Linked DNA regions of Homo sapiens: region 1 is linked to region 2. The links are contacts of gene promoters, found by promoter capture Hi-C in human tissues and cell types (Jung and others, 2019). All regions are on one chromosome and are shown on one strand. The core of a region is centred on a gene start or on the middle of the fragment in contact, and the rest is flanking DNA. Distances in the headings are between cores, read along the strand shown.

What was found. The method cuts DNA at HindIII sites, captures the fragments that hold promoters and counts their contacts. A contact is called where the count stands out against the background at its distance.
Region 1: a fragment that was not itself captured here is called in contact with the fragment with the promoter of TULP1 in region 2 in 1 of the 25 tissues and cell types used here (small bowel).

Annotation. Positions count from the first base shown.
Region 1 is chr6:36,036,159-36,040,836 of GRCh38, forward strand. All of the region lies in intron 1 of MAPK14 (mitogen-activated protein kinase 14), which reads left to right. Among named protein-coding and RNA genes, the nearest start is that of MAPK14, 11 kb to the left of the region's middle. RefSeq lists a silencer at 2,463-2,512. The HindIII fragment of the contact is 3,983 bases long and covers 943-4,678 here.
Region 2 is chr6:35,511,547-35,516,360 of GRCh38, forward strand. It overlaps TULP1 (TUB like protein 1), which reads right to left and starts at 1,350. Exons shown (of 15, transcript NM_003322.6): 1 at 1,266-1,350; 2 at 1,093-1,144; 3 at 634-724; 4 at 102-260. The coding sequence starts at 1,312. The HindIII fragment of the contact is 7,738 bases long and covers 1-4,814 here.

The DNA.
Region 1 (4,678 bases), core at 1,684-4,183, 530 kb after region 2:
CTGGGAAGTGGAGGTTGCAGTGAGCCACTGCAACCAAGTGGCAACCGAGATCGTGCCACTGCACTCCAGCCTGGGCGATAGAGCAAGAGTACATCTCAAAAAAAAAAAAAAAAAATCAATAGATGAGAAATTGCTTCTCAGGAATGAATAAATAAAGTAGTTTCTTGAGGTGGAATCTGCTGTTGGGGAAGATGCTTATGAACATTGTTGAAATGACAACAAAGGGTTTAGAATATTACATAAACTTAGTTGATAAAGCAGCAGCAAGGTTTGAGAGGATTGACTCCCATTTTGAAAGTAGTTCTACTGTGGGTAAAATGCTATCAAACACCATTGCAGGCTACAGAGAAATCTATCACGAAAGGAAGAATAAATCAATGCAGCAATTCACCGTTGTCTTATTTTTAGAAATTGCCATAGTCATTCCAGTCTTCAGCAGTTATCACCCTGAGTAGTCAGCAGCCATCACCCTGAGTAGGCAGCAGCCATCAACACTGAGACAAGACCCTCCACCAGCAAGAAGATAATAACTTGCTGAAGGCTCAGGTGACCCTTAGCATTTTTTAGCAAAAAAATATTTATTTATTTATTTATTTTTTCTAGATGGAGTCTCGCTCTGTTGCCCAGCCTGGAGTGCAGTGGCACGATCTTGGCTCACTGCACCCTCCACCTCCCAGGTTCAAGCAATTCTCCCACCTTAGCCTCCCGAGTAGCTGGGATTACAGGTGTGCACCACCATGCCCAGCCAATTTTTGTATTTTTAATAGAGATGGGGTTTCACCATGTTGGCTAGGCTGGTCTCAAACTCTTGACCTCAAGCGATCCTCCTGCCTCGGCCTCCCAAAGTGCTGAGAGTAATAGGTATGAGCCACTGTGCCCGGCTAATAAAATATTTTTAAATTAAGGTATGTGCATATATATATTTTTTTGACATACTGCTAGTGCATACTTAATAGACTACAGTATCATGTAAATATAACTTTTATATGCACTGGGAAACCAAAAAATTTATGTCACTCATTTTTTTGTGATATTCACTGTGTTGTGGTTGTCTGGAACTGAACTCATGATATCTTTGAGGTACACCTGTATGTATGTGTTAAGGATTTACAAAATTAACCAGCTTTCCCGTGCAGTGTTCAAGTCTTTTAATAATTTATTATAGGGAAGAAGAAGTGGTGGTTTGTAAATTCTGTACTTGACAAATGGATACTGGGTTTTGGGCATGCTTGGCTCCAAGGCTGAATGTTGGGGGAAAGAAGTATAGGAGAGTGAGGAGTCTAGGATTTCTAAGTTTTGGCCTTGGGCAAATGGATATATTTTAGTGCCATTTTCTGAACTTTGTGTTACAAAGTTACAAAAGAGTGTTACAGGGTACAAGATTGTAGAGAGAAAGGGGAAGGAGCATAGGTTCATGGTAATCTCCTTGAGGACAGGACTCATTATACCTTGAGTGCCTACCATGTATGGTTTGCCGTAAGTGCTGGAGATGAAATGTGAACAAAAGAGACAAAAATTTCTGCCTTAAGAAGCTATATTCTGGCCAGGTGCAGTGAGTGGCTCACACCTGTAATTCCTGCACTTTGGGAGGCCAAGGTAGGTTTCCTTGAGCCCAGTAGTTAGAAACCAGCATCCTGGGAAAAATGGGGAGGCTCCTCTACTAAAAAATAAAAATAAAAAATTAGGGATGCTTGGTGGCACACTCCTGTAGTTCCAACTACTTGGGAGGCTGAGGTGGAGGGATTGCTTGAGCCTAAGAGGATTGCTTGAGCCTGGGAAGTTGAGGCTGTAGTGAGCTGTGATCCTGCCACTGTACTCCAGCTTGGGTGACAGAGTGATACCCTGTCTCCAAAAAGAAAAAAAAAAGGAAGCTATATTCTAATGGGGATGGCAGTGGAAGTAGATAATAAACAAAATATATAGTGTGTCAGATAAGTGCTGTGGAGAAAATGCAAGAAGGGAAGGAGAGTGAGTGCTAGGATGGCTGTTGCACTTTTAAGAAAGGTGAATACGGTAAGCATCATTGATAAAGTAACAATTGAGCAAAAACCTGAAGAAGGTGATATAGGACACTGGTTGGACATGGGTGAGGATGTGATAACATTCTAGGCTGAGGATTAGCAAGTGTGCAAAAGCCCTGAGGTAAGGGCCCTGTGCTCCAGGAAATAGCTAAGAGACCAGTACAGCTAGAGCTAAATGAACCAGGGGCCAAATATAGGGAGAAAAGTGGGGTGAGGAGAGGGTTGCAGATATGCAGGGATCATGTAGGGTCTTATTTGCCTTTGTACAGACTGTGACTTTTCCTTTAAGTGAGAGGGGAAGCCTTGGAGGGTTATGACCAGAGGAAGGACATGACCTAAATCTTGTTTTAACAGATTACTGTGCTCTAGGGTCCCAAGTTTTTCGTTTCGGTTCCTTACCCATTCTACCCTAAACCACTACTGTGAATAGGATAGAACGGTGGAGTTAGATGAATTGGTGCAAGCCCTGACCCATGCTCACAACTCTCATTCCAGCAGTCCCAGAGTGCCAGAGCCAGTATTTTTGTTGGGCCCTAGAAATTTAGGGTATTCCAGTCCAGCTCTTTAAATAACATGGGCTGACTTTACTTTTTCAGGTTTTTGTTGCCAAAAGGAAGGAGCAGAGATTAGCTCTTGAGTTTAGCTGAAAAAGGAAGATTAGTCTGCTGGCAGATTGAGTGTTTTTTAACTTCTTTGGCTTTTAGGGTTTTTCTTACTTTTGGATCATGTTTTAAAAGTCATTTTTACCTTCTTTCAACAGTTAAACATTTAAGTTTTATTTGATTTTATTTGACCCTTTTTCTGCTTTACATTCCTCTGCCTTTTCCCCATTATAATACTTTTAGTAGAGGTTAGACCATTGTTATCTGTCATTAATGTCTTAGCTTTGAGGCCCCAAGGACTTCTCTGTTAAACTTAAATATATCATATAGATTGAAAGATTATCTACAGACATGTGATCCTATAAAAACCCATATTATTTATTGTCCTCCCTGCCTTTACAGATGTAAACCCCTCTCCTCTTTTCATCAGAGCTCCCCCTCTTTTACTGCTCTATCATCAGGTTGCAGAAAATAAGTTTTCCTGCAAACATAGATTCCCATGGCAACATAACAAAAAGGTAATAGAACAAATGTTTATTTTGTCTAGACCTGCTGTCTGAGTACCATTAGACCCTGAACATGTTGGCTCCTGTTATTTGAATATGTGGTTACAAATTCCTTATTTTCCTCAAAACTTACTTCTCTTAGGCCTTGGTGATATTGTCACTGTGCCTGTGATATGAAGGAAGGTGTGTGTGTGTGTGAGTATGTGTGTCTTACTGTCATTCTACTCAAAAGTGTGTATTGATTGCATTTTCAAACTTATGGCTTAAAATGTAGACACCACACAATCTGAGCATGTGAAGAAAAAAAGCATACCAGTTTTGTTCTTTGTTTTCGTAAGTTCATTAATTTAATATTTCCAGTGCACTATACTAGATATTTTGTTTACAGAGATTTTAAAAAAAAGAAGGGTCCCTCCTTTCGAAAGTATCAGTCCAGGCTGGGTGCAGTGGCTCACGCCTGTAATCCCAGCACTTTGGGAGGCCAAGGTGGGCGGATCACTTGAGGTCAGGAGTTTGAGATCAGCCTGGCCAACATGGTGAAACCCCATCTCTACAAAAATTAGTTGGGCATGGTGGTGTGTGCCTGTAATCCCAGCTATTCAGGAGGCTGAGGCACAAGAATCACTTGAACCCGGGAGGCGGAGGTTGCAGTGAGCCGAGATCACTCCCCTGCACTCCTGTCTGGGCGATAGAGCAAGACTCAGTCTCAAAAAAAAAAAAAAAAAGAAAGTATCAGTCCAGAGGAGACATATTTATGTTTCCTCATAGATGGCTTTGGAAGTCCTCTGTAGTTTTGGATCTTGAAGCATTTTAGGTTTTGGATTTTCAGATTAGGGATACTCAACCTGTATAACCCAGGGTAATTCAACCTATTGACACTTTAGGTGGGATAATGTTTTGTTGTGGGGGACTGACCTGTGCAGTGTAGTATGTTTAGCAGCATCCCTGTCTCCAACTCACTGTATACTAATAGCAATTCCCAGTTGTGACAACCAAAAATGTCTAGACATTGCCACATATCTCTTGACGGGTAGGGAGGGCAAAATCACCTTTAGTTGAGAACCACTTATATAACCCTATATATTTGGATTGATAACCCTGTATATTTGATTGAGTAAAAACTAGATGGGATAACATGAACCTTCCACCTGCAAAAAGGCAGAAATGCTATACTTTCTGCATTATAAATTGGGCCTCTCTAAACATGATTTTTGTTATTTCTAGGAGAGTAACAGCATTTCTAATGGTCAAGGTCCTAGCTATAACCCAATAAGCTTAATGGATGGGAGAACTTGCACAAGCATGTTTGCAAGAGGCCAGGTGTATCACTGGCACATTTGAGAAACAACTAATTAGTGAGGGAGACCCAATTTTCATGAATAATTGTGTTTTGTCATTGTCATGGCCCCAACTTAGGGTGTTTTGAATTTTTTCTGGAAAGGAAATTAGCATGAAGTCCAAGTTGGTAGGTAGGTAGCATTTTCCCTAGTGTCTCTTCTGGTATTCTGTGTCCTTTCTCTCCTGTCTTCTTTCAGTATTTAGCGTTTTC
Region 2 (4,814 bases), core at 100-2,599:
TACAGTTGTTTTCTGCCTCTCTGGGCCGTTCCCGTCCAGCCAGCCCCTTCTCTCCTTAGCTCCACCGCCCCCTCACCCGCGTCCCTGGGGCCCTCTCTCACCGTCCTCCGCGTCTGGGGCACGGGCTACCAGAAAGGTTTCCCGGGGGTCGCGCTTCTTGGCCTCGGGGTCCCTGAGGAACCTGGCGTAGACCGTCTGCGGCGCCCGGGCCTGGGCTGGGTCTGGGGAAGGCTCCTCCCGCGGCCTCCCCGTCCGCCCAGCTGAGCCGAGATGCGGGGTTCAGACAGGGTCCCATCCGCGGGTCCGCGAGGCAGCGCCTCTACCCGCTACCCCCAAGCCTGGGCGCACCCCCTCGGGCTCCTCACCCTAGGGATCTCCCCTGGGCTTGGGTTTCCACTTTCAACACTTCTCCCCGGCTTCCATTCAGCTTCCCACCCCCTTCTACCCCAACGCCACCCCCTTCTACACCAACCCCAACCCCAACCCCAACCCCAATCCCTCCCCTCTCATCACTCCCCGCCCCCTCCTCCCCCACCCCGTTCCAGGGCTCGGCGACACCCGCGCCGGCCCTCAAGCCCCTCCCTTCCGCAGCCCACACCCTGGGGGTCCACCCGGGCTCTGCACCCCGCCCACCTCCGGGCTTCCGGGGCTTGGATCCCGTGGGGCAGGGGGATTCGGGGGCCTCCGTCCTCTTCTTCCTTAGCCTCTGTGCCGGGGCGGGTCGCTGCGGAACGGGGGTCAAGAGGAGGTCGAGGAAGGAAAGGGGGGCGCTGAGGCCCGCCCATCCCCCTCTAATCCCTTGAGCCGCCAGAAATAACCGCAGATTATCCGGGGGGAACTGCAGCCCCCTTCTTGGAGTGAGGCAGGATGACCCCTTCCATGCATCGTGGCCATATCCAATGCTCCAAAGTCCCTATTCCTTCCCTGGAAACCCCAAGTCCCCAAACAGCCCTTTCTCCCCCCAGATCTCCAGACATGCAACCCCCAGACCCTGCTAAGGGGGACCTGTCCCACCCCTAGACCCCCTACCCTGCGTGGGTTTACGCACAGCGGGGACATCTTTCTGCTTCCTTTCCAAGTGGGGTGGCATACCTGTTTGGGGCGCCGCGGGGCCTCCGGGCTCAGGCTTTCTTCTTCATGCCCACTGAGGGTAGCAAAGGGATCAGCCTGTCTCCCTTCCCCTTCCCTCCCCATCCCACCCACTCCCCATCCCTCCATCTAGGCCCCCCAGGGTTCAGGTGCCACGAACTGGGGGCCTTCCAGACCTGTCAGAGGCCCACACCTCTCGGAGGGTTTCATCCCGCAGAGGCATGGTGCCTTTGCCTATCGCACCCCTTTCTCTGCAGGTCTAGGAGCCTCCCTCCCGACTCCTGCTAATCTCGGCTCAACTTCACCCCCCTTCCCCCTGCTCAAGGAGTGGAGGCCTGGCCGCGCTGTGGGAGGTGCTACAGCCCACGACCCTCCCCTGCTAGGCCCAGGCCACTGGGGGAAGAATCTCAACTCCAGTTCTTCTCAGATCCCCAGCAGCCTGCAGGATGGCCACCAGCTCCACCTGCCCCGAGAAGCCCCCAGAAGCTTGGGGTGAGAGGGGCCGATTAGTCATTTGTCAATGGGATGTGGAAGAAAACATTAGACTGGATCCTGTATTTATCTTTATTTCTCACAAAAAATAAGAACTAGAGCCAGGTGCGGTGGTTTACACCTGTAATCCCAGCACTTTGGGAGGCTGAGACAGGTGGATCATTTGAGGTCAGGAGTTCGAGGCCAGCCTGGCCGGCACAGTGAAACCCAGTCTCTACTAAAAATTCAAAAATTAGCCGGGTGCGGTGGCTCACCCCTGTAATCCCAGCACTTTGGGAGGCCGAGGCAGACGGATCACAAGGTCAGGAGATCGAGACTATCCTGGCTAACATGGTGAAACCTCATCTCTACTAAAAATGCAAAAATTAGCCGGGCATGGCGGCAGGCACCTGTAGTCCCAGCTACTCAGGAGGCTGAGGCAGGAGAATGGCGTGTACCTGGGAGGCGGAGCTTGCAGTGAGCGGAAATCATGCCACTGCACTCCTGCCTGGGCAACAGAGTGAGACTCCGTCTCAAAATAAATAAATAAATAAATAAAAAATTAGCTGGGCATCGTGGTGGGCACCTGTAGTCCCAGCTACTGGGGAGGCTGAGGCAGGAGAAGCACTTGAACCTGGGAGGCGGAGGTTGCAGTGAGCCGAGATCTTGCCAATGCACTCCAGCCTGGCCAAAAAGAGCAAGACTACATCTCAGAAAAAAAAAAAAAAAAAAGAATATGTCTGTATTGGAGGTATACCCTTAACTCTTTTTCTTTTTTCACTGATAGGGGACATGCTTTTGTGGTATTGTTTTGTTTTGTTTTAGACAGAATTTTGCTCTTGTCACCCAGGCTGGAGTGCAGTGGCACGATCCTGGCTAATTACAGTAAATCCATATCAAATGGAACTTTCTAAAATACTATTTCTTCGGTTGCCACCTTTGTTCAAAAACATTCATTGGCTCCCTACTGCCTAAGGATTAAGTTTAAATGTGTTGGGTTGACATTCAAGGCTCTCCCTGATCTGGCCCCAGTCTGCCTTTCTAACCACAGGGTTATCCCAAGCCATACTCTTCATCCAGCCACAGAGGTTTCCTTACTGCCTTTACAGTTCTGTCCTCCATGCCTTTGCTCAGGCTGTTCCCTCCCGGAACGCCCTCCCTATTCCATGAAACCTATCCAACTCTAAACAGTCCTCAAGTCGCCACTTCGGAGAGGCCTCAGTCCTCAGTTGGCTCTGACCATATAATAATAATAGCATTTATTGTCCACCTACTGTGGCTTGCTCCCATTCTGACTCCACCCTCACAATAATATTTATGAGACAGACATTAACACCCTGATATTAGGGCAAGGAGCAGTGGCTTATGCCTGTAATCCCAGCACTTTGGGAGGATCACTTGAGCCCAGGAGCTCAAGACCAGGCTGAGCAACATAGTGAGACTTTGTCTCTACAAAAAATTTAAAAATTAGCTGAGCAATGTGGTACATGCCTGAGGTCCCAGCTACTTGGGAGGCTGAGGCAGGAGGATGACTTGAGCCCAGGAGGCAGAGGCTGCAGTGAGCTAAGACAGTGCCACAGCACTCCAGCCTGGGCAATGGAGTGAGACCCTGTCTCAAAAACAAAACCAAACAACCAAACAACCAAACGAAAACACCCTGATATTAAAGGTGAGGAAACTGACAGCTGAGTGTCAGTCAACAAGTATTTCCTGAGCACCTATTGTGTGCCAAGCGCTATGCTAAATAATGGTCATACAGAGATGAACAACATGATGTGGTCCCCGCCCTCGTGCAGCTTACATGCTTGTGAGAGAGACAGATAGTAGAGACATAAATACCCAAATTAGTGATAATGATCTCATTATTATTAGTTGTGAGAAATGCCAAGAAGGAAAGGAACTGGGCTCCACGAGACCAGCAGGTGGGTTCCAGTCTGGATTTAGAGTACAGGCAAGGCTGCCTGAGGAAGGAAGGTTTCGTTTTGTTTTGTTTTGTTTTTTGAGATGGAGTCTTGTTCTGTCACTCAGGCTGGAGTGCAATGGCACGATCTCAGCTCACTGCAACCTCTGCCTCCCAGGGTCAAGCAATTCTCCTGTCTCAGCCTCCTGAGTAGGTGGGATTACAGGCACCTGGCTATGTTTTGTATTTTTAGTAGACAAGGGGTTTCACCATGTTGGCCAGGCTGATCTCAAACTCCTGACCTCAAGTGGTCCGCCTGCCTTGGCCTCACAAAGTGCTGGGATTACAGGCATGAGCTACCATGCCCTGCCCTGAGGAAGGAATTTTTTTTTTTTTTTTTGACATGGAGTCTCACTCTTGTCACCCAGGCTGGAGTGCAGTGGTGCAATCTGAGCTCACTGCAACCTTCGCCTCCCAGATTCAAGCAATTCTCCCGCCTCAGCCTTCTGAGTAGCTGGGACTACAGGCACCCGCCACCACGCCTGGCTAATTTTTTTTTTTTTTTTTTTTTTGTAGTTTTGGTAGGGATGGGGTTTCACCATGTTGGCCAGGCTGGTCTCGAACTCCTGACTTCTAGTGATCCGCCCACCTCGGCCTCCCAAAGTGCTGGGATTACAGGCCTGAGCCACCGTGCCTGGCCAAGGAAGGCATTTTTAAACTGAAATCTGAAGGAATTTTTTTTTTTTTGAGACGGAGTTTTGCTCTTGTCTCCCAGGCTGGAGTGCAATGGCGTGATCTTGGCTCACTGCAACCTCTGCCTCCTGGGTTCAAGTGATTCTCTCCTGCCTCAGCCTCCCAAGTAGCTGGGATTACAAGCGTGTGCCACCATGCCTGGCTAATTTTTGTATTTTTAGTAGAGATGGTGTTTCACCACCTTGGCCAGGCTGGTCTCAAACTCCTGACCTCAGGTGATCCGCCTGCCTCAGCCTCCCAAAGTGTTGGGATTACAGGCATGAGCCACTGCACCCAGCCTGAAGGATCTTGAAGGCTAGAAAAGAGAATGTTCCAGGCACAAGGCACAGCATGTGCAAACTGTTTTCAGGCAGCAAAGAACTTGGCACACTGGAGCAGGACTGCCCCCTGGACCGGGACAAGAGTAGTCCTGCCTGCGACCTGCACTTCAGAGGGCTCCTGAGACTTGCAAATGCCAAACAGATACATTGCTAAGAACTGTCTCACAGTTGGGCAAGGTGGCTCACGCCTATAATCCCAGCACTTTGGGAGGCCGAGGTGGCCAGATCACTTGAGGTCAGGAGTTCGAGAGCAGCCTGGCCAACATGGTGAAACCCTGTCT